2 separate regions of the Homo sapiens genome follow, and region 1 is linked to region 2. The links are contacts of gene promoters, found by promoter capture Hi-C in blood cells and fetal thymus (Javierre and others, 2016). All regions are on one chromosome and are shown on one strand. Each heading gives the region's core, a stretch centred on a gene start or on the middle of the fragment in contact. The rest is flanking DNA. Distances are from core to core; before and after follow the strand shown. Region 1 holds the start of LOC101929566 (a long non-coding RNA gene). Region 2 holds the start of PRSS27 (serine protease 27).

Region 1 (5,623 bases), core at 1-2,500, 150 kb after region 2:
TGAGCTATGATCGTGCCACTGCACTCCAGCCTGGGCCACAGAGTGAGACCCCGTCTAAAAAAACTAAATAAAAGAGATAAAACTTGTATGTGATTTGTTTTTCTTCCCTATCTTTACCATAGAAAAATAGGATCCAAAAATTTCCGCAAATATCCTGGTAGGACTTGGAAACTCAGTCTTTCTTGCCCTTGAAGAAAAGAGAACTAGTTTTTTGGTTTTTAATGATTTGGTGTCAAGGTCTGCTGTAAAAGAGGAGAACAGTGGCTTGAGGACAGAGAAGACAGGAAATACCTCACCTAGACACCTAGACACAGGAAGGAGGAAGGATTTTCCAAAGCACAAAAGAGGGGAGAAACTGAAAACTTAGGAAAGTTCTCTGAGGGGGGCATTGCTCAAACATCCAGGAGCCCCAGGGAGCCAAGGCCCCACTGGTTGACCTCAGGCTTGAGGTTCAAGGGAGTGCCCAGGGGTGCTTCACTGATCAGAATCTGGCCCCCATCCATGCCTGCCCTGCCCAGGGCTGTACTACCAACGTCCACTTGCTCCCACACCTGGTACTCCCATGCTCCCCTAAGCAAGGCAGATTTTCAGCTCTGGTAGAGCCAAACTGAATGTCAACTGTAGGTTGATAAACAGCCATTTCCCCAAGTCCCCAGGTGCCCCTTACTGCCCAGCTGCTCCAGGCCCTCCACTATCCTCAAAATCTAACACTTAAAGAGTGAATGCCTGTTTTCACACAGGGCCTCCAGCATCTCCAGCAAGACTGTTCTGATTGTCTCATGCCTGTAAAGAGCTGGTTGTTAAATATGTGGGTCAGTGCAGAAACTGACCTGAATAAGTCCCAGGCTCCCTGGGCTGGGATCCTCATTTCTCTTGCTTTCTCCTAACCTGATTAACTGTGAGCCTTTACAGACTTGCTATCTATAGGTCCATGGTCTCTCTCAGGGTACATTGTACCAGATCCACAGTTTGCAGGGCTGAAGCCACCCCGGGATCATCTGGGCCTCAGTTCCAAAAACTGTTTGCTACTATACTCAACACACCACCTCGCTTCACCCTTCTTATTCTGCCCCAAGCATTGTCTTCCCCACTGTACACATGAGGAAATTGGCTCAGAGAGGGAGGAGTTGATCCCAATTCACATGGCTAGGAAGTAGAAAGGCCAGGACTCAAGCAGAAAGGAAGTAGAAAGGCCAGTCACAGGGCCATTTTAAGACCTTGATAAGCCTGGAGCATTCTCAGCTTTGAAGCCCCCATCACATGGCTTCGAACACATGAGCATGCACCTCCCTCTGCAGAATAAATGCAATGGACCCACAACCGTGTGCTCTGAGTTGCACTGGACCAGTGGACATAATTATGTCTAGGAGACATTTAACAAACAACTATGTAATTCAACTTGGCAACTCCATTTCCTATTTCAGAGTAAGGATAATTTTCCAGGACTCAGACATTTTTGTAAGCCCTACATTGCTGTAATACCAAAAGCCTACAATACGTTGAAACTTTGGTCTTCTCAAAGCATGCCCAGCTCCTCCCCTTCTCTCTGCAGTATAATCCCCATTTTACACACAAGGAAACCATAACAGGGTGCCTCTGGATACAAATAGCAGAGTACTCCGACTCACAATTGCTGAAGCAAAATAACATGACTCTATTATTGTGACTTTATTATTCCAGGAAATGCTTGCCCAGAAACACAAAAGTTGCAAATAACCTTACTCCTTGAGTTCAGGAAAATCCATTAATAAAACCACACAGCTCTTCAACAGGGAGCATCAAAGAAAGCTCCAAGAGTCTTTGAAGCCCTCACTTCACTGTGACCACCAATACAAAACTGTGACCAACAATCCTAAACTATTATAACATGATCCTTACCCAGCCCTGATTAAGTCCGACATCAAAGGACCTGCCTTAAACCAAACCCCAAAACCTCAGTATCTCAACTTTGCCCTCCCGACCTCCACTCTACAATGACTCTTTCAAGGTGGTGCTTCCCCTTAGCATAAGCAACAACCCAGTTTTGTCTTATCAGCTGCTTGCTTTGATGCTATTTCCAGGAGCCAGCATTTGAAGAGGGAACCAGGACCAACACGGTCGGCTGTGTCCAATGAGGTAGGATGAAGCACTGGAGTAAATTTCCCTGGAGAGGTGCGCACTGCCTGCCAACAAGAAAGGGGAAAGCAGTGAGCTGAGATCGCCCCACTGCACTCCAGCCTGGGCGTCAGAGTGAGACTCTCAAAAAATAATAATAATAAAACATTAAAAAGGCGGGGGAGGGGGGGCGGGGGGGGTACCGGAGAAGCAGGCGTCAGTGTTCTACTACAGTCCCACAGTAGTAGAACGTAGTCATGGTGTCTTTGCTATTCGTGCTGAATAGCTGGTGTTTTCCAAAGTAAGTATAGAATTAACTATACTTATTATTATTATTATTATTTTTCTGAGACAGTGTCTCGCTCTGTCGCCCAGGTTGGAGTGCAGTGGCGCGATCTCCGCTCACTGCAGGCTCCGCCTCCCAGGTTCACGCCATTCTCCTGCCTCAGCCTCCTGAGTAGCTGGGACTACAGCGCCCGCCACCACGCCCGGCTAATTTTTTGTATTTTTAGTAAAGACGGGGTTTCACTGTGTTAGCCAGGATGGTCTCGATCTCCTGACCTCATGATCCACCCACCTTGGCCTCCCAAAGTGCTGGGATTACAGGCGTGAGCCACCGCGCCCGGCCAACTAACTTATTTTCAAAATAAGTATAGAATTAACCAACCATACCTCCTTAATTGATGGTTCTCTTAATCTTGATTCCAAGGGTCTTAACTATCTGGATGTACTCATTGTATGCTAAACAGACACCAAAAGGATTGACTAATCTCATTTTTATGTACAGAGAATCAATTCCCGAAAAATGCTGCAGGTTTTGCATTTGTTTTAAAATTTTAAAGGTCATAATATTTATTAATACATATTTATACCCTTAGAATTCCCAATCTGGCAGCAAATAGAGTCCCATTCTATTATGCCATTGAAAGTAATGATAAAAACCGCAGTTACTTTTGCACCAACCTAATAAAACCATGATTAAAAAAATAATAAACATTTAAAAAGCGGTGGGGGGAGTGGGGCGCGGGGGCGAGCCGGAGAAGCAGGCGTCAGTGTTTGCTAAAGAAACCAAGGCCCAGAAGAGAGTTAAATGTTTTGCCCAAGGTCAGGCAAAGAGTTGGCAGGAGGTCTAGAGGAGAATTCAGGCTTCCTCATCTAAACTCCAAGCTTTTCCGCCCAAGCAGGGCATGCCCTGGGGCCAACCCCTCCAGGAAGCCTGGGTAGTGTCCTTCCCTGCATTTCCCCAGTGGCTGCTGCCTCAAGGTGACTCAGAAGGAAGCTGTTGTCTCTAGTTCCTCCTCACCAATCCAGCTGGTCTTAGGATCGGGAAAAAGATAAGCTAATTGTCTGGTGGTTAATTAACTCCAGCCAACTAATGATCTGAACTTGCCGCGGATACCCAGCCAGCGGAAGTGCGGTTAACTGCCCGAGGGATGCCCCGAACACCGGCCGAGCCAACTTCCGGCCGCAGAGGCTGCCGGGCAGGGGTTATGGCGGCCGCCAGAGTGAGCCAGCTTGGTGTCCGGGGACACTTGGGGCACTGCGGATGGACAGCGCTGGTTTTCAATACCAGGGACCTAAGTCCGGGTGGGGAGCGGCCCCTCAGCGCCCCAGACCCCTGCCACGGTGCCGGTGACGGGCCACGCCCAAAATATCAGGAAAAGCGTCTCAGTCCTCCTTGTGGGCGGAGAAGAGACCCAGCGGCCGAGCCCGGGGGCCTCAGATCCCCAGCTGCTCATTGGCCTGTGTCTGTCGCCCCCCGGTGGCCGCGTGAGGGACTGGAGCCCGGCTTTGCTCCTCCCGTTGGCCTCGTTTCTCTTCCTGGCTTTGCGTGTCCCGACCACTAAAAGCCCCAAACATGACGAAGTAAAATGGGCACCGTCAAAAACCGCATTTGAAGACAGTGCGCATGAGCGCATGGTTAAGTTTTCAGACGTTTTGCAAGCTGGATGTTAAATACATTTTTTGACGTCATTGTTAAAAAATAAATTTTATGAGCCTACAATTAAATACATTATATTAAAAACAAAGGTAGACGCCTGCGCGGTGGCTCACGCCTGCAATCCCAGCACTTTGGGAGGCCGAGGCGGGTGGATCACCTGAGGTCAGGAGTTCAAGACCAACCTGGGCAACATGGTGAAACCCCATCTCCACTAAAAGTACAAAAATTAGCTGGGCGTGGTGGCGCGCACCTGTAATCCCAGCTACTTGGGAGGCTGAGGCAGGAGAATCGCTTGAACCTGGAGGTGGAGGTTGCAGTGATCTGAGATCATGCCACTGCACTCCAGCCTGGGAGACAGAACGACTTACTGTCCAAAAAATAATAAATAAACAAATGAAGAAAGAAAACACTCAAAATGTATCACTGGTTAATTGTTTTGCTGTTTTACTACTATCTGTGTTCTTGGAGTGATTTACATCCATCTTATCTGTATGGTGGGAATACTATATAATAGTGTGCTATTGCACGTTTCTTTCCAACTCTATGTTCAATGACATCATATTGGAGACTTGAAATCGGCTATGGTGGGAATATTTACACCATAGAAATTGGTAAACTGTAGAAATCAGGGCTTTTTTTTTTTCTTCCCAGAAAGTCAGTTGTTAAACATTCAGCAGCATACCACTGGAGTCAGACAATAGCCAACGTGGAGAGACAGAACAAGGTCCGTGTCTTTTTGGGGTCAGCATAGGAACATAATCATTTTCTGCTTTATTAAGATTCAGCGCAGAAACTGACACATGGTGCTCCATGAGTGTTTGAGGAAGAGCAGGAGAGAGGAAATTATGTGCTTCGCTGGGCTCTCAATTTACTTATCAGTTTGCCTAACCTTGACCCTCACCGGGACTCTTACCTCAACCTTTTCTCTCCAATTATCCTAACAGCCCTTGGTGCACCACGTGCAAGGCCTGAATGCTAACAATTGAAAGCGTTTCAAAAGCGAAAGTCAGCCAGGGAAGGATTTTGAGTTGGGGGTGATAAAATCAACTTTGCTTTAGGATGAGAATCAGCCATCTGTTTGTGGAACAGGTTGAGGAGAGGAACAACCAGCAGCAGGGAGACCAAGACTTTGTTCCACACTGACCGTGTGTTAGGCCTGTGTAGAGAGAGATGGGGCTGCAGGGGTGAGCTTAAGCCGCGATCCTTGGCTCCAGGAGCTCAGTCTTCTGAGGCAGGAGATAGTAAACAGACAATCACTGTGACTGTGATGTACACACTGGGGGAGAAGGCAGGTTGAAGTCCTGGAGAGCAACTCACTCTGCCTGAAGGAGGCAAGGAAGCAGTGAGCCAACCCAGAACTCGTAGGGCTTACAGTCAGAGGGACGCTGTCAAAAAAGGGAAGACAGGAGATGACAGCATGTGAAAACTGCCTAGGCAAAGCCTGGAAAGGAAAAACCGCAGGAGACTGATGGGAGATGAAGCTGGAGAGGGTTAGAGTTTCTCACTGCAGACTGAGCATTTTTGAGACGGGGTCTCGCTCTGTCACCCAGGCTGGAGTGCAGTGGTGCGATCTCAGCCTCCTGGGTT
Region 2 (5,690 bases), core at 1,900-4,399:
CTTCTCCCTGGCCTCAGGGGAGTAGAGAAGGTACAGTGGTCTGCATTGGCCACCAGGGATCAGCCTTCTCAAGATTCCAGAGTCCCAAGAGCTGACCCCTCTCCCAGGCATGCAGCAGGCTTGGCAGACGAGGCCCAGGACCCCCTGCTGGGCTGTGCAAGGGGGCTTTGGAGCGGATAAAGTGAGGGGCCCGGAAGAGAAGCAAGATATGGGGTCGTTCGGGGGAACCAAGGATGGGAACATATTTTCTGCTGTCCATTGCCTCCCACACCCCAGGACACAAAGGGCCTCTTGCTGGGCCTTTAACCAAACACTGGAGCCTCTACCCCAGCTTGGAGACCCCAGCCAGGACCATAGTGTACAGCCCCAGGGTAGCAAAGCCTGGAACTTCCTGGCCTTGAGAGAGTCCTCTCACCACCCCTGCACTCCACGCGTCTGATTCTGTGGGGGCAAGATTCGCCCGTAGCTGGGGAGGGGTTAGAACAGCCACCTCCCCACACCTAGGCCCTCAGCTTCCCCTTAACCCCCAGTGCCTTCCGGTGCCCGGGCCAGCTGCTATGGACCATGTCTTCACTCTGCCCGGAAAAGATAACCAGTCCCCTGGAGTTGAGGGGCTGTGGGGACAGGAAGTGGCCATGGAGGGCCCAAGCACCCCCAGGGTTTTTACGGCATCCTCTTCCTTTCTGTCTGCCTCACAGTCTGGGGGGCACCCTCCCCAACACCACTGGTGGGCAGAGACACCCCGGGGGTTGCTGGACGATAAGGCAGCGGGCGGCGAGGGGGCAGCTGTGGATGGGCAGGAGGAGGAGGTGGAGAAGGTGCAGGGCAGGCAAAGGGGTGCCCTGCAGAAGCGGGGTCAGGGGCAACGGGAAATGGAGAGTCTGCCCTGGATGCTCTGCTCATTAATTTGTGCTAATTAAGTGCCCTTTAAAATGCAAACACTACCGGGAGGGTTATTCCCTGGCCCCCCGACCCCTTGCTCCTTCCAAGCCTGAGGATCCTGCTTGCAGAAGGGCGCGCACTGTCAGGCCTTCTCGCTCTCTGGGAGTCTGCAGGAGCTGTGTCTCCATGCTCCCTGCCTGAGCACTGCCCCTTCAGCGATGCCTCCTCCCCATGCAGATCCTTCCTTCCTAAAGTAGCCCTGTACTTCTCATTTAGGCAGAGTCTTCTGGTCTCTGAGTGCTTGCTCCCCTCACCCCACAATCTGGATGCCCTTCCCCCAGTCTCCATAAGTCCTAGTCTTTTTTTTTTTTTTTTTTTTAAGATGGAGTCTCACTCTGTTGCCCAGCCTGGAGTGCAGTGGCGCGATCTCAGCTCACTGCAAGCTCCGCCTCCTGGGTTCACGCCATTCTCCTGCCTCAGCCTCCCGAGTAGCTGGGACTACAGGGGCCCGCCACCAAGCCCGGCTAATTTTTTTGTATTTTTAGTAGAGAGGGGTTTCACCATGTTTGCCAGGATAGTCTCGATCTCCTGGCCCCGTGATCCGCCCACCTCGGCCTCCCAAAGTGCTGGCATTACAGGCGTGAGCCACCGCTCCCAGCCAAGTCCTAATCGTGATCTAGAGATCAAGGCCCAACTGAATGCTGCCTCCTCCAGGAAGCCTTCCTTGCTTGCTTGCATTGTCTACCTTGGAAGCCCTATACTCTCTCTTGAGCTCTCTGTCCTGATGGGAGCTCTGTCTACATCACCCTGGAGCCAGAATCAAGTCTTATCTTAGCCCAGGAGCTCCGAGAAGGCAAGGGCTGCATCTGGGGGGCCTGATCTCAGGGAATGTGTGGATGGACACAAGTGTGGCTGTGGGGGCTGATGGGAAATGGGGGATGTGGACAGCTGAGCCCTTCAGGGTGGGCGCCCTGTGGGGGCTGGAAGCAACAGCCAGGGGTGCCGGGGGTGTCAGGAGCATTGTTTGGGGCCTGGGCCTGTGATTCGCTGGTAGCTGGTGGGGATGGTGAAGCTTAGTGGGTACCACCAGCCAGAGACCTGGTGGGAGTGCCACCCTCGGGCTGGGAGTGAGGACGTGTCCAGGAGTCCAGCCTCTGGTCACAGCTGTTAGTGAACCGACTGCAAAACTCATTGCCAAAGAGTTTTGGCAATGACCTTGGTTCCTCACCCCGCTCAGGGGCAGTCACAGCCTTCCACCTCCTGTGCACATGGCTTGCTCAGAGGGCACCATCCTTGTGCTGGGAGACTGGGGGCATGGGGTGGGGGAGGCCGGGCCACTGAGGGGCCACTGGTGCCCTCCCACCCAGGAGAACAAGGAAGCCTGGAGTACTGGCTAAGCTGCAGCCTGGGATGACCTGACCCAGCCCTGGGAGGTGACTTGAGGACAGGGAAGTGTGGTGGCTGCCAGACTGGCTAGGCTAGCCCAGGAATGTGAGAGGTTTTCCCTGACAGAGAGTGTCCCGGCCCGCAGGGAGGGGCCTGGCAGGTGGGGCCCCCTGGCTGGCACCTGCTGTCCCTGACCCAGGACTGGGAGAGGGCACGGTGGCGCATCACCGGTTCCTCTGTCAGCAGGAGACAGGGCCCTCTGCCACCTACACCCCCTGCCCCCAGCTCTCTACTGAGCCTGCAGCCAGCCTGCTGGGGCTTCCGGGCACAGGCAGCAGCCCTCGGCTCGGCCACCCTCCCACCCCGAGTATGATGGTCCAGGCACTTGGAGCCTGAGTTCACATCCTGCACGTAGGAGGCCCCTGTCCTCACCTAGAGAATGGGGGGAGAGGCCGAGGTGGCAGGAAGCAGGGAGCCTGGCCAGAGCTGGCACACCAGTGCCCGCGGAGAGGCATGGGAGGAGGTGCTGCCCAGTTATGCCGGTGGGGTCCTCTGGGGCCTGTGCGCACACCTCCCACCCTGCCTCCCCACTTTGGACTCCCCACTTGGCACATCTGGAGCCTTCCCACCTGCTCAGGGGCAGGAGGGATGATGGCCTGTCCCACAGCCCCAGCCTGTCCCAGGGAGTAGGGGGCTGAGCCGGAGCCCCAGGCAGTGCAGCGGAGCCTGGTGGGGGACTGCACCACCAGGACCCTGCACCTTCACGACTCACCAAAACACAGCAGCAGCAGGAGCGGCACCGCCGCCGGCCGCCTCATGTCCTCAGGCCTGGCTGGGGCGCAGGGCCGTGGTCGGCGGTGGCAGAAGCGTTGGAGCACGAGCGAGGTGCAGGCTCCATGAAGTGGAGTTTTATGCTGGAGATGAGCACAGGCCCGGCTATGCGGCCCAACCCGTCGGCCCGGCCTGCCCAGCTCCTCTCCTCAGGAAGGAAGCGCCCAGAGCCGACTCCTCCGTGACCTAGCCCTGAACCCCGAGACCCCAGGGCAGACCCCTCACCCCAGCGCAGCACGGGGTGCCGTTGGCCTCGGTTCCTGGACCCTGAGCTGACCCAGACCCCCCAGCAGACCCCGAGCTGACCGCGGTGCACGCGAAGTCCGTCCAGCTTCATTCATTATTATTATTATTATTTTTTTTAATTTTTTGAGACAGAGTCTCGCTCTGTCGCCCAGGCTGGAGCGCAATCTCGGCTCACTGCAAGCTCCGTCTCCCAGGTTCAAGCCATTCTCCTGCCTCAGCCTCCTGAGTAGCTGGGATTACAGGCAGGTGCCACCACGCCCGGCTAATTTTTTGTATTTTTAGTAGAGACGGGGTTTAACCGTGTTGGCCAGGCTAGTCTCGATCTCCTGACCTCGTGATCCGCCCTCCTCGGCCTCCCAAAGCGCTGGGATTACAGGGGTGAGCCACCGCGCCCGGCCTCATTCAGTATTTTATTGAGCGCCGATGGAACACAGTGGGGCTGGGCCGCGCTGGTGGGAAAGTCAAGGCCAGGGGTGTTTGCGGGGCCGAGGGCAGGGGAGGCGATGGGACATGGGGCGGGGTCCGGAGTTGGCCGCAGCGACCCTCCTCCCGGGACAGCAGGCCCCAGAAGTTCCTCAGGCGCGCGCCAGCGCGGCCCAGGCGGCCGACCCGGGCCCCGGCTGCCATCCCTTGGAAGGGGCGGGGGCTTCCTGGCACCAGGCGGGGCGGAAGCGGCTCCGGGAAGGCCGGGCCGGGGTTACCGTTTCGGTGTCCCCGCCTGGCTCTGGGCGCGGCGCCGCGGCGGAAGAGGCTCGGGGAGGAAGTTATTTGGGGCACGGCGCTGACGTCAGAGACAGAGTGGGGCCGGGCCGTGGGGTCGGGGGCGCCGGACCTGTTTCCCCGCCGGCGCCGGGGGTCGGTACTCGCGGGCGGGGCGGGGCCGGGCGGCTCCGGGCGGGGCTGGGGGTGCGGCCGTTCCCGCCTCAGCCTTGTCCGCGCGCGTCGTGGTGCTGCCCTCTGGTGGGCGCGGGGCGCGGCGCGGGCGGCCAGGGGTGCAGAAGGGGCGCTCCCAGCCTCATGGTCCGGGCTCCGGCTCCCCGCATCGCCCTCCCTAGCCCCGCCCTCCCGCGTCTCCGCCTCCGCCTCCACCGCCTCCTCCCACCCTTCCCTCCCCGTCCAGTCCCTGGAGTTCCCGGGTCGGGGGTGGGAGGCGGGCTGGGCAGCCCCTGGGGGTCTGGAGGGAAGGAGGGAGGGCGAGGAGTGGGAAGAGGGGACTCCAAACGTATTCATTCATGTATTGATTTATTCATTCAGTCAGTCAGTCATTTCTGAGCAGATTTGAGCCCAATACTGTCCCCGGTTTGGGGAATACAAAGGTGACCCAAACAGACCTCACCTCAGTGTGAGAGAGAGAACATCATTTAGCAGAGAAATCTCTAATTATAAACCGCGACGGGCTGGGTGCAGTGGCTCACACCGGGAATCCCAGCACTTTGGGAGGCCAAGGCAGGCAGATCACCTGAGGTCAGGAGTTCGAGACCAGCATGGCCAACATGGTGAAACCCCGTCTCTACTAAAATACAAAATTAGCCGGGCTTGGTGGCGGGCACCTGTGATCCTAGCTACTCAGGAGGCTGAGGCAGGAGAATCACTTGAACTCGGGAGGCGGAGATGGCAATGACACGAGATTGCAACACTGCACTCCAGCCTGGGAGACAGTGAGACCCTGTCTCAAAAAAAAAAAAAAAAAAAGGAGAATAATAATTATCAACCACGGAAAGTGTTTCAAAGTGTCTGGGTGACCACATTTCTCCAGCACCCTATGGTCAGGTCACTGATGGGATCTCAGAGGCAGTCTTAGAGCCTCGCAGGTAACTATTTCCTCTTGGCACCTTTCTGTGTGTTCCTTGGTGTCTGCTCCCCAACCCTCCTTTTAAGCCCATTCCTCTAAGGGTGTCTCTGCCTTAAAATCAAGAAAGTGACAAAAGTCAAGATGCAGATCAGGGCCAGGTGCAGTGGCTCACGCCTGTAATCCCAGCACTTTGGGAGGCCGAGGCAGGCGGATCACGAGGTCAGGAGATCAAGACCGTCCTGGCTAACACGGTAAAATCCTGTCTCTACTAAAAATACAAAAAATTAGCTGGGCGCGGTGGTGGGCGCCTGTAGACCCAGCTACTCTGGAGGCTGAGGCAGGAGAATGGCCTGAACCCGGGAGGCGGAGCTTGCGGTGAGCCAAGATCTCGCCACTGCACTCCAGCCTGGGTGACAGAGCGAGACTCTGTCTCAAAAAAAAAAAAAAAAAAAAAAAAGATGCAGATCAGAAAGCGAGGACGCCAGGGAAACTTGGGCTCCTGAAGAACAAGGCACAGCCACGCCAGCGATTAGAGGATCGGGAACCCAGACCT

Evidence for each region. The method cuts DNA at HindIII sites, captures the fragments that hold promoters and counts their contacts. A CHiCAGO score of 5 or more calls a contact.
Region 1: a fragment that was not itself captured here is called in contact with the fragment with the promoter of PRSS27 in region 2 in 4 of 17 cell types (endothelial precursors, total CD8 T cells, naive B cells and 1 more); the score reaches 6.2 in endothelial precursors.

Annotation. Positions count from the first base shown.
Region 1 is chr16:2,864,695-2,870,317 of GRCh38, forward strand. LOC101929566 (a long non-coding RNA gene) reads right to left here and starts at 3,510. Exons shown (of 3, transcript NR_188573.1): 1 at 3,398-3,510; 2 at 2,767-2,835; 3 at 1,654-2,162. RefSeq lists enhancers at 3,314-3,433, 3,534-3,713, 3,724-3,793. The HindIII fragment of the contact is 4,018 bases long and covers 1-3,259 here.
Region 2 is chr16:2,717,075-2,722,764 of GRCh38, forward strand. It overlaps PRSS27 (serine protease 27), which reads right to left and starts at 3,150. Exons shown (of 6, transcript NM_031948.5): 1 at 3,041-3,150. The coding sequence starts at 3,086. RefSeq lists an enhancer at 3,420-3,987 and silencers at 3,721-4,480, 4,611-4,680, 5,364-5,533. The HindIII fragment of the contact is 5,437 bases long and covers 1,953-5,690 here.